Linked DNA regions of Homo sapiens: region 2 is linked to region 1. The links are contacts of gene promoters, found by promoter capture Hi-C in blood cells and fetal thymus (Javierre and others, 2016). All regions are on one chromosome and are shown on one strand. Each heading gives the region's core, a stretch centred on a gene start or on the middle of the fragment in contact. The rest is flanking DNA. Distances are from core to core; before and after follow the strand shown.

Evidence for each region. The method cuts DNA at HindIII sites, captures the fragments that hold promoters and counts their contacts. A CHiCAGO score of 5 or more calls a contact.
Region 2: a fragment that was not itself captured here is called in contact with the fragment with the promoter of DCHS2 in region 1 in 1 of 17 cell types (naive B cells); the score reaches 6.1 in naive B cells.

What each region holds. Positions count from the first base shown.
Region 1 is chr4:154,489,529-154,493,837 of GRCh38, reverse strand. It overlaps DCHS2 (dachsous cadherin-related 2), which reads left to right and starts at 2,039. Exons shown (of 20, transcript NM_001358235.2): 1 at 2,039-4,309. The coding sequence starts at 2,483. RefSeq lists enhancers at 1,609-1,658, 2,461-2,640, 2,691-2,830, 2,299-3,254, 3,255-4,211. The HindIII fragment of the contact is 6,491 bases long and covers 1-4,309 here.
Region 2 is chr4:154,358,595-154,362,903 of GRCh38, reverse strand. All of the region lies in intron 3 of DCHS2 (dachsous cadherin-related 2), which reads left to right. Among named protein-coding and RNA genes, the nearest start is that of DCHS2, 130 kb to the left of the region's middle. The HindIII fragment of the contact is 301 bases long and covers 1,692-1,992 here.

The sequences.
Region 1 (4,309 bases), core at 790-3,289:
GCAGATGGCTGAGTCCAGAGTGGTGGTATGAGGCAAGGTCAGAAAGATGGATAGGATCCTGTACTACTAAAAGGAGCTTGATTGAAGGAGTCTGAATTATAATCTAAGTATAATGGAATCATTTCAGGTTCTAAGCAGGAGGTAATATGATTTGAGACAGCTTTAAAAACATTAATCCAGATGCTTGTTCAAGAATTACTTATAGGCTGGTTGCGGTGGCTCAAGCCTGTAATCCCAGCACTTTGGGAGGCCTAGGCAGGAAGACTGGCCCCAGGAGTTCGAGACGAGCCTGGGCAATATAGTGAGACCTCATCTCTACAAAAGTAAAAAAAATAAACAAATAAATTAATAAAATAATATAAAATTTGCCAGGTATAGTGGTGGGCACCCATAGTCCCAGCTACTCTGGAAGCTGAGGTGATGGAATCACTTGAGTCCATGAGGTTGCAGTGCGCCATGATTGCACCACCGCACTCCAGCCTGGGTGACAGAGTGAGATCCTGACTCAGAAAACAAAACAGCAACAACAACAACAATAGCAAAAACAGAAAAGAATTACTTATAAAGGGGCAAGAGTGGGAGGGGAGGGACTAGTTAGGGTGCAAATGCAGAGACTGAAGATAAAAAGACTCTAAAGACTCATAACAAATCTCTTTAATGGTTAAAGAGAGTTCATTGGGGGAAAGAAAGCTGAATTTATTTTAATAATGTCCCCATTTTCGGTAACATATATGCTACAAAGTCAATTATTTTATTGTTATTTGGTCACAGGTAGAGATAACGGTGTGGCTGTGGATTAGCAATTACATACACCTCCGTTGCACATTTAAAAAGGCATTTTGTTGTTGCTGCAAGAAACCACTATGCAGGGCTTTTGGTCCTCCCTAAAGGAGAGAAACGGTATCTAGGAAATTAATTCTTCTCTCAGGCCCAAATGCAAAATTGCAGAAACCACTTGCTAAATATGGTCAGCCATTTTTAAGAGTCCAGAGAGTCTTTTCTCAGGCGTACTTTATTAGAGGCCATTGATCAGTTTCTACCGATTATTATAGTTAATTGAAGGGAAATCTGCGACTATGGCTATTTATTGGCATTTGCGTTCGGCTCAGACAGAAGCTAGTTTTGAAAGTGGTATCCGTAGAGTTATCCCGCTTGCACACTTCCTTGCCTAGGGGTGGTGGGGGAGCGCTGAGGGCTTGCGGGGTGTCAGCCACCAGGGCTTTCTGCTCATCAGTCAGCATCGTCAGACATCCTGGAAGTGTTATGATGGCGCTGAATGTAGAAAAAGGGTTCTCAGGGCGGATATATTGTCGTCATTCCTGGTGGCAGAGGGGAGTGACAAGAGGCTCACACGTCGCTGGGTAGTAGCACGCATAATAAAGTGTGGTTTGCACCATGTGTGCCACAGATTTCTCGGGTTTTCTGGAAGGCTTTTCCAAGTTCCGCCTTCTCCCCTTTAAAGCCATCCTGGCCCCAGCTATGCATCGGCCTTTGACTCCATCTGTCCTTCCGCTGCGGACGGGAGTCCCTCTCGCCAAATGGAGAACACAAGTTTGGCACCCCAAAGTGATGATAACCTCTACCCTCTTGGCTCAGCGCGAGCCAAGAGTCAGGCCTGCAGAGGGACGGTCAAGCGGATGGAGGGGGAGGCCGCGGAGAGGCCGCTCCTCTCACCTCCCCGCACCCATCATCACTTGGCACTTGGCCAAGCCCAGGCAGACGCCCCGCCTGCGCGTCCCCCACCCGCCCCGCGGTGCACGTCTCCCAGTGCTTTTGCATTTGCTCCTCTTCCGCCCTGCTGCAGAGCGCGGCTCGCAGGTTGGAGTTTGCCCTCGTGTGCGCCGCATCACACGGCAGGGAGGGGAAGGCAGGCGGCGGAGGCTGGGTCGGAGCAGGAGTCGCGCGGTCCCTGGCGCCCGGAGACACAGTGGGGAACCACCGCCCCGCCCCCGGAGCAGCGGACAGGGCCGCAGACCTCCCTTCCCCCCTCCCTCTCTCCCTCCTCCCCAGCGCCCTGACTCCCTGCCTCCACGCCCTTACTCCACCCCCTACTCCGGCCAGATCCCCATCCTCTCCTTGTGTGTGCGCGCTTCATATAATCTCCTCCTTTTTGGCAAAAGAAATAATGCACCTGACTTTACCAGGGGGGAACAACCAGCCGAGTAGAACAAGGAACAGATGTAAAGGGAATAAAAGGAGAGAGAAAAAGAGATGAGATTCGTTTAAAGAAATCCAGGGGCAGAAGAGGTGGCTGCCGCGGCAGAGGCAGCTAGAGCTTACTTCCCTGTCTGCGTGAGCTGCAGGCAGAGGACGCTTTCACCAGTTGCAGATGTAACCTCGGGAATTCCTGGGCCGTCGGTTTGTTTGCCAAACAAAGTCTTTTCTTCTCTGGCTCAGACACTGAAGAGGCTCCTGGATTTTTCTGCGATCCTGCCACAAGCTGGCAGTTACCCGAGAGCCTTCCCAAGGAGCTGGAGGAGAAATGAGCCCTTGTGGGCGGAAGATGGGCGAAGGGCGTCAGCAGCGGCGGGCTCCGGTCGGGAAGCTCCTTCTGCTCCCCGGGAGGAGAGATACACCCCATGGGCGGTCAGGCAGCAGCGGCGCCAGGACGCAGCGCTCCCTGCTCTGGCTCTTGGTGCACGTGTGGCTGTGGGCGGCCTCGGGCTCCTCTGCCCAGTTGTTCAACCTCACCCTTTCCGTAGATGAGGGGCTTCCCCCGGACACGCTGGTAGGTGACATCCGCGCCGGGCTGCCGGCCGCGCAGCAGCAGGAGGGGAGCGGCTTCTTTCTGTCGGAGGACTCCGATGACTCCCCGCTGCTGGACGACTTCCACGTGCACCCGGACACCGGCATCATCCGCACTGCGCGGCGCCTGGACCGCGAGCGGCGGGACCACTACAGCTTCGTCGCCGCCACGCTGCTGGGCGCTGTGGTGCAGGTGGAGATTCGCGTCAACGACGTGAATGACCACTCGCCCCGCTTTCCCCTCGACTCCCTGCAACTCGACGTCTCCGAGCTCAGCCCGCCAGGGACCGCCTTCCGCCTGCCAGTTGCCCACGATCCGGACGCCGGACTGTTCAGCACTCAGGGCTACACCCTGGTGCAACCGTCCGACCTGCCCAAGGACCCCGCAGGCCCGTTCTTCCAGTTGCGCTACCGGACTCCGGGGCCACTACCGTCACCGCTTTTGCCAGGCTCCTCGTCACCCCTGGAGCCTCTAGATCTGGTGCTGCTGCGGCGCTTGGACCGAGAGGAGGCGGCGGCGCACCGGCTGCAGATCGAGGCATGGGACGGCGGCCGACCCCGGCGCACCGGCCTCCTGAGCGTGGAGCTGCGCGTGCTGGATGAGAACGACAACCCGCCGGTCTTTGAGCAGGACGAGTACCGCGCCGCGGTGCGCGAGGACGCCCAGCCGGGCGCCGAGGTCTGTCGCGTGCGCGCCACCGACCGCGACCTGGGGCCCAATGGCTTCGTGCGCTACAGCGTCCGCGCCCGGCAAGTGCCTGGGGCGGGTAGCGGCGGCGGGGCACTGGGCGACGCGGCCTACTTCGCGGTGGAGGAGCTGAGCGGCGTGGTGCGAGTGTGGAGACCTCTGGACCGCGAGGCACAGGCCTGGCACCAGTTGGTGGTGGAGGCCCGCGATGGAGGCGCCGAGCCTGAGGTTGCCACGGTGCGCGTGTCCATCGCCGTGCTGGACGTGAATGACAACCGGCCAGCAATTCACGTGCTCTTTCTCACAGAGGGAGGCGTCGCCCGTGTCTCTGAAGGCGCCCGACCGGGCGACTACGTGGCTCGCGTCTCGGTGTCTGACGCGGACGGTGACTGGGAGAAGGAAGATGAGGCCACAGGGGAGCTTGGTGTGGGTCTTGGAGACGGGAGCATCTCTCTGTCCTTGGAAGGCGGAGAGGGAGACTTCGCGTTGCTACCCGGCGGCCCCCCAGGGGTATTTTTCCTTTGCGTGGAGGGGCCCCTGGACAGAGAGAGCCGCGATCTGTATGAGTTACTACTGGTGGCCACGGACGCGGGGTCCCCGCCGCTGAGCACGGAGGAGACGCTGCTACTCCGGGTCGCTGACCTCAATGACCAACCACCTCTCTTCAGCCAACAGCATTACAAGGCCTCAGTGTCCGAGGCCGCGGCCCCTGGCACTGTAGTCATGTGGGTCAGCGCCTCCGATGCCGACGAGGCAGGCAGTGATCACGCCTGGCTGCGCTACACTGTAGTCCAACTCTCGGCTCCCTGCAATCTCGGCTCCCTGCAATCAAAGATGGTCCACACCGCAGAGTGTGGACCATCTTTTGCCATTGAT
Region 2 (4,309 bases), core at 593-3,092, 130 kb after region 1:
TTTTATGTATTATATACTGTATTCTTACAATAAAGTTAGCTAGAGATGGGAAGTTATTATTAAGGAAATCATCAAGAAGAGAAAATATATTTACTATTCATTAAGTAAAGGTCTTCATCCTCATCATCTTCATGTTGAGATGGCCGAGGAGGAAGAGGAAGGAGAAGGGTTGGTCTTTCGGTCTCGTGGGTGTCGGAGGTGGTAGAGACGGAGGAAAGGGCAGGCAGGAGAGGCAGGCATACTTGTAACTGTTATTGAAAACTATCTGTGTATAAGTGGACTCACGCAATTCAAACCCATGTTATTCAAGGCTCAACTGTAGTCTTCCTCTTCTGGATATTTTCTTTCAGGAATCTACATAAAGCTGGACTTTCTTGCTCCCATCATATGGCCGATCTCTACAGAGGCTGCCAGTGTAAACACAGTCCTAAGAAAGTGCCCCCATCATATATTTGTGGAATAAATGAATAAATAACATCTAGAAATATTGCAAAAGTAACTTAAATCCTTCCTACAGCCTCTTAAAAATTTCATGGGAGTTTCATTGATATATGGAGCAAAACTTTATTTAAAATCCTCTTTCTGAATCACAGCATGGTAAGTGACTCTATGGCCTATCCCCACGTTTCCTCAAAACTCTCCCTAGACTTTCTCTCCAGCCTACCTGTGCTGGCACTTTACTTTTTGTTACCTCCCTTTGTCTCTGGATTTTTCTATTCTCTTCCAGAATACCTGTCTGGCCTTGACAATGGGAATTGTTCAAGCTAGTCTCAACACCTTTTAATTTTCCTTCTTCCTTTTTATCCTAAGTTCTTATATAGGCAGGTTGAGATGTTATGTCATATGAGAAGAAGATTGAGAATTGATGAGCCCATTTATACATTGCTACTTCTTCCTGAATTACTCTAGAATTCTCTCTTAGAGATTTCATTTGCACACTGGTTCATTCATTCTTTCATTTTGATGCTTTCTTTATCAGACATGCTATTTTATAAACTTACATGCTTTCTGTTATAGGCTTGTGTTTTCCTGAAGACAAAAGATTTCTCATTGATCTATTATGCCACAACCAAGACTCATGCATTTAAAAATAGAGCTGTTTGACTTACTGTGTTCATCTGGTATGAAAAATGTTTTGGAGAAAACTAGAAGGGGGTGTGGCGATGTCATGGTTGTTTTCTCTTGTGGGTTTATCTTCCTGTTCTGTTTCTAGTTTTCTGGGTTTGTTGCTGGTTCAAAGAACATTTTTGTAAAATGTGTTTAGGCGCCACGAGAGAGATACTGAGTTGAGCCTTCATTTCTCTTATTCTTAGTTCACTGGCTTTCTTTGATGTGGGCACAAGGCAGACCACACTGTTTTGAGTTTTAACGGGAAGAAACACAAGAGACATATTTATTAATAGCTCTTTTTTCATGTATTTTTAATCCCATTTTGTGAATTATATGTAGATTTCTTCCTCCATCGTTTGAAGTGCTCTCTTTAGTAACATTAAAAGAGCAGTTCTTTAGCTTTGGGGTTTGTCCTATTTATTCTGTAGTTTTACACTGGAAGAAACTACTTTTTTTTCAACTTTTATTTTAGATTCAGGGGATACATGTGCAGGTGAAGTTACCTGGGTATAATGCATAATGCCAAGGTTTGAGGTTTGAGGAATTCAGATCATTTTAAGGCAACAGGCAGGTTTCAAGCTTTTGTGCTGGTCATTTATTTTCATCCCAAACTATCTCTTTTATTCAGGCAACCATTGGTTAAATCTTGTGGTTTATCTCTTTTTCTATAGAAGCATGTTAATGATATAAATGCAAATCAATAAAAGTCATAAACAGAATGTAGCTTATCTATTCAAGGAATAAATGGAAGCCAGTTCATCTGTTCAATACATATTTATTCAGTGCTTATGATGCAGCAGGCCGTGTTCTAGGTGTTTGGGATACATCAGTGAATAAAACAGACAAGAATCCCTGCTCTTGTAGCACTTACAGCAACAAGCTTATGTGGCTTAGCCTTTGTCTGTTCTATGTTTAGTTGTGGTGTACACAAAATCCAAGTTTAGCACTACAGAAAAACAAGTAATTGAAAGGATATCAAACTGCCAGACAAGGGCAGCTGTTCCTCAGTGTTTAGTTGTAATCTTTTGTTTGTATGGGGTGTGTGATTTTAACATAGACTGTAAGTAATGTAGTACAGACTTGTTTTCTGTATTTCAAGGGCAGATTCTTTTCCAATGTTAGTTTTATGCTCAGATTTTATACCATGTAATGATTCTTGTAATTCTTCACAAACGCCACCTTCCTACATTTAACGTTGAACATTCTGGTATACAGTTAATAAATTAATACCACACCTCATTTCATAAGGGATGTGAGCCTGTTCCTGCCAAATAAATGATGACTTTCTCTTATTTGCAAGACAGAGTCTAAAATTAATCATGAGCACCTAATCAGTGTACGTTACTTTCATAGGAAACAAAAGCATGTTAGAGAATTTCTTCATTAGGTTTCTCGTACCAGATCACAGACTTATAAAGATGGAAAGAACCTTACAAATTAGCTGCCTCATTTAGTGGAGGAAGAAATTGAGGCTGGAAGGGATTTGATGACTTATCTAAAGGTACACTGTTGGTGATGGTGGCATTGGACTTGAATCCCATTCTAAACCTGTGATCTGTTCCTGTGCTGCTCTGTCTCAGATAATAATAGTTTTCAGTGTCTTTTCCATATGTAATATTGCCTATTTGAGTCTTACATTAATTACATGGGATAAACATGGCAAATATTTTTATGTTCATTTGCAGATTAAGAGACTGAAGACTCTAAAATTCTTAGTGACTTACTCAAAGACACAGTAGTAAACCTGACACTTGAATTTACTTCTTGCACTTCCATTTCAAGGCTTGTTTCATAATTATGACTTAAAAAAAAACACTAAAGATGAAGCTAAGATAAATATAGGTTCTACTGATTCAACTAAATAAGATAGAAAAATGACCTCTCATTGTGACAGGAATTTCTTTATAAGACTACCTAAACACCAAATTATCTGTTGAATTTTATTTACTCTTTCCAATTGAGTAAGTAGAACTCAGTGGACTTTTCCAAAACAGGTACATTTTTTTCTTAAGAATTTTTTAAAATTCTCAATATGAGATAGAATTTCAAATCCATTCTAGTTTTTTCAGCCAATACTACTTAGTCGCTAAGATTTGTGTGCAAAATAAATAGCACAGTGTAATCTATTTGGTAAATAAGTTTTTATATTCTCACAAACTGAATATAGGAGATACTTCATAAATATCTACAACTAAGAAGAAAATGGTATTGATATCCTGTAGCTTTTGGTTTGTATCTGTTTGTGAGAGAACCTCACTTTTAAACTCCGTATCTGTTGAAGGTCATGATTTTGTGCTTATTTTTGTTGCTAACTATTTCATGGCTTATAATTTTAGTAATGATTTACTGATTATTTTCTAATTATGAATTGCTACCTTGGTTAAAAATTCCATTTTCCAGGATATTTTATTCTGAAAGTCAGTATTGCTTAGTTAGTAGAAGAGCATGATTATGTACGTATATATATATCTTTAAGTTCACTTAGTACTGCATCTGTTCAAAACATTTTTTGATTACAACAGTTTCCTCTATTTAAATAAAAAGTGACAAGGTGAAGAGCATAGACAAACATTATATATGATAATTGGTATGTATAAATCCAAGCAGTCATTAAAATAGAAAATAACCAGTGCTCTGTAAGTTAATTAATGACGTTTTTTAAAGTTAATGTTTGTCCCTGCACTGGTGGTTAATTACCATTTGCAAGTGTCATGAAAAATGTGAGCTAAATAATCACTGTACTTTAAAGTATTAAAATATAGTGTCATAAATTTTACTCTGACCAATATATAGGCAAAGAGAGTTATTCATTTTATTTATGATTTTATTATTTATTATTAATAAATAACATGAATTATGATACACACATATATTACATATATGCATATTTATATATAGTAAACAATTAATAACAAATATGGGAGTTACATGTTTTCTAGCCCCTCAACTTCTAATAGAGAGCTTAGTTTATTTAAGCATGTTGGATTCAAATATACAATTACTAGTCAGTTATACTCAATAAAGTTGAAAAAAAAGTTAGATTCAAGTAAATAGGTTTTCTAGCTCCTGTTTATATATAAATGTTTAAAAAAGTGAATGTTTGAAATATTCAGCATATATAATATAGAACAACAAGCTTTATCCTAATACTTCCCTTCTTTTCTAAGTGATGAGTGTTCATTCAAAGAAATTTAATGAA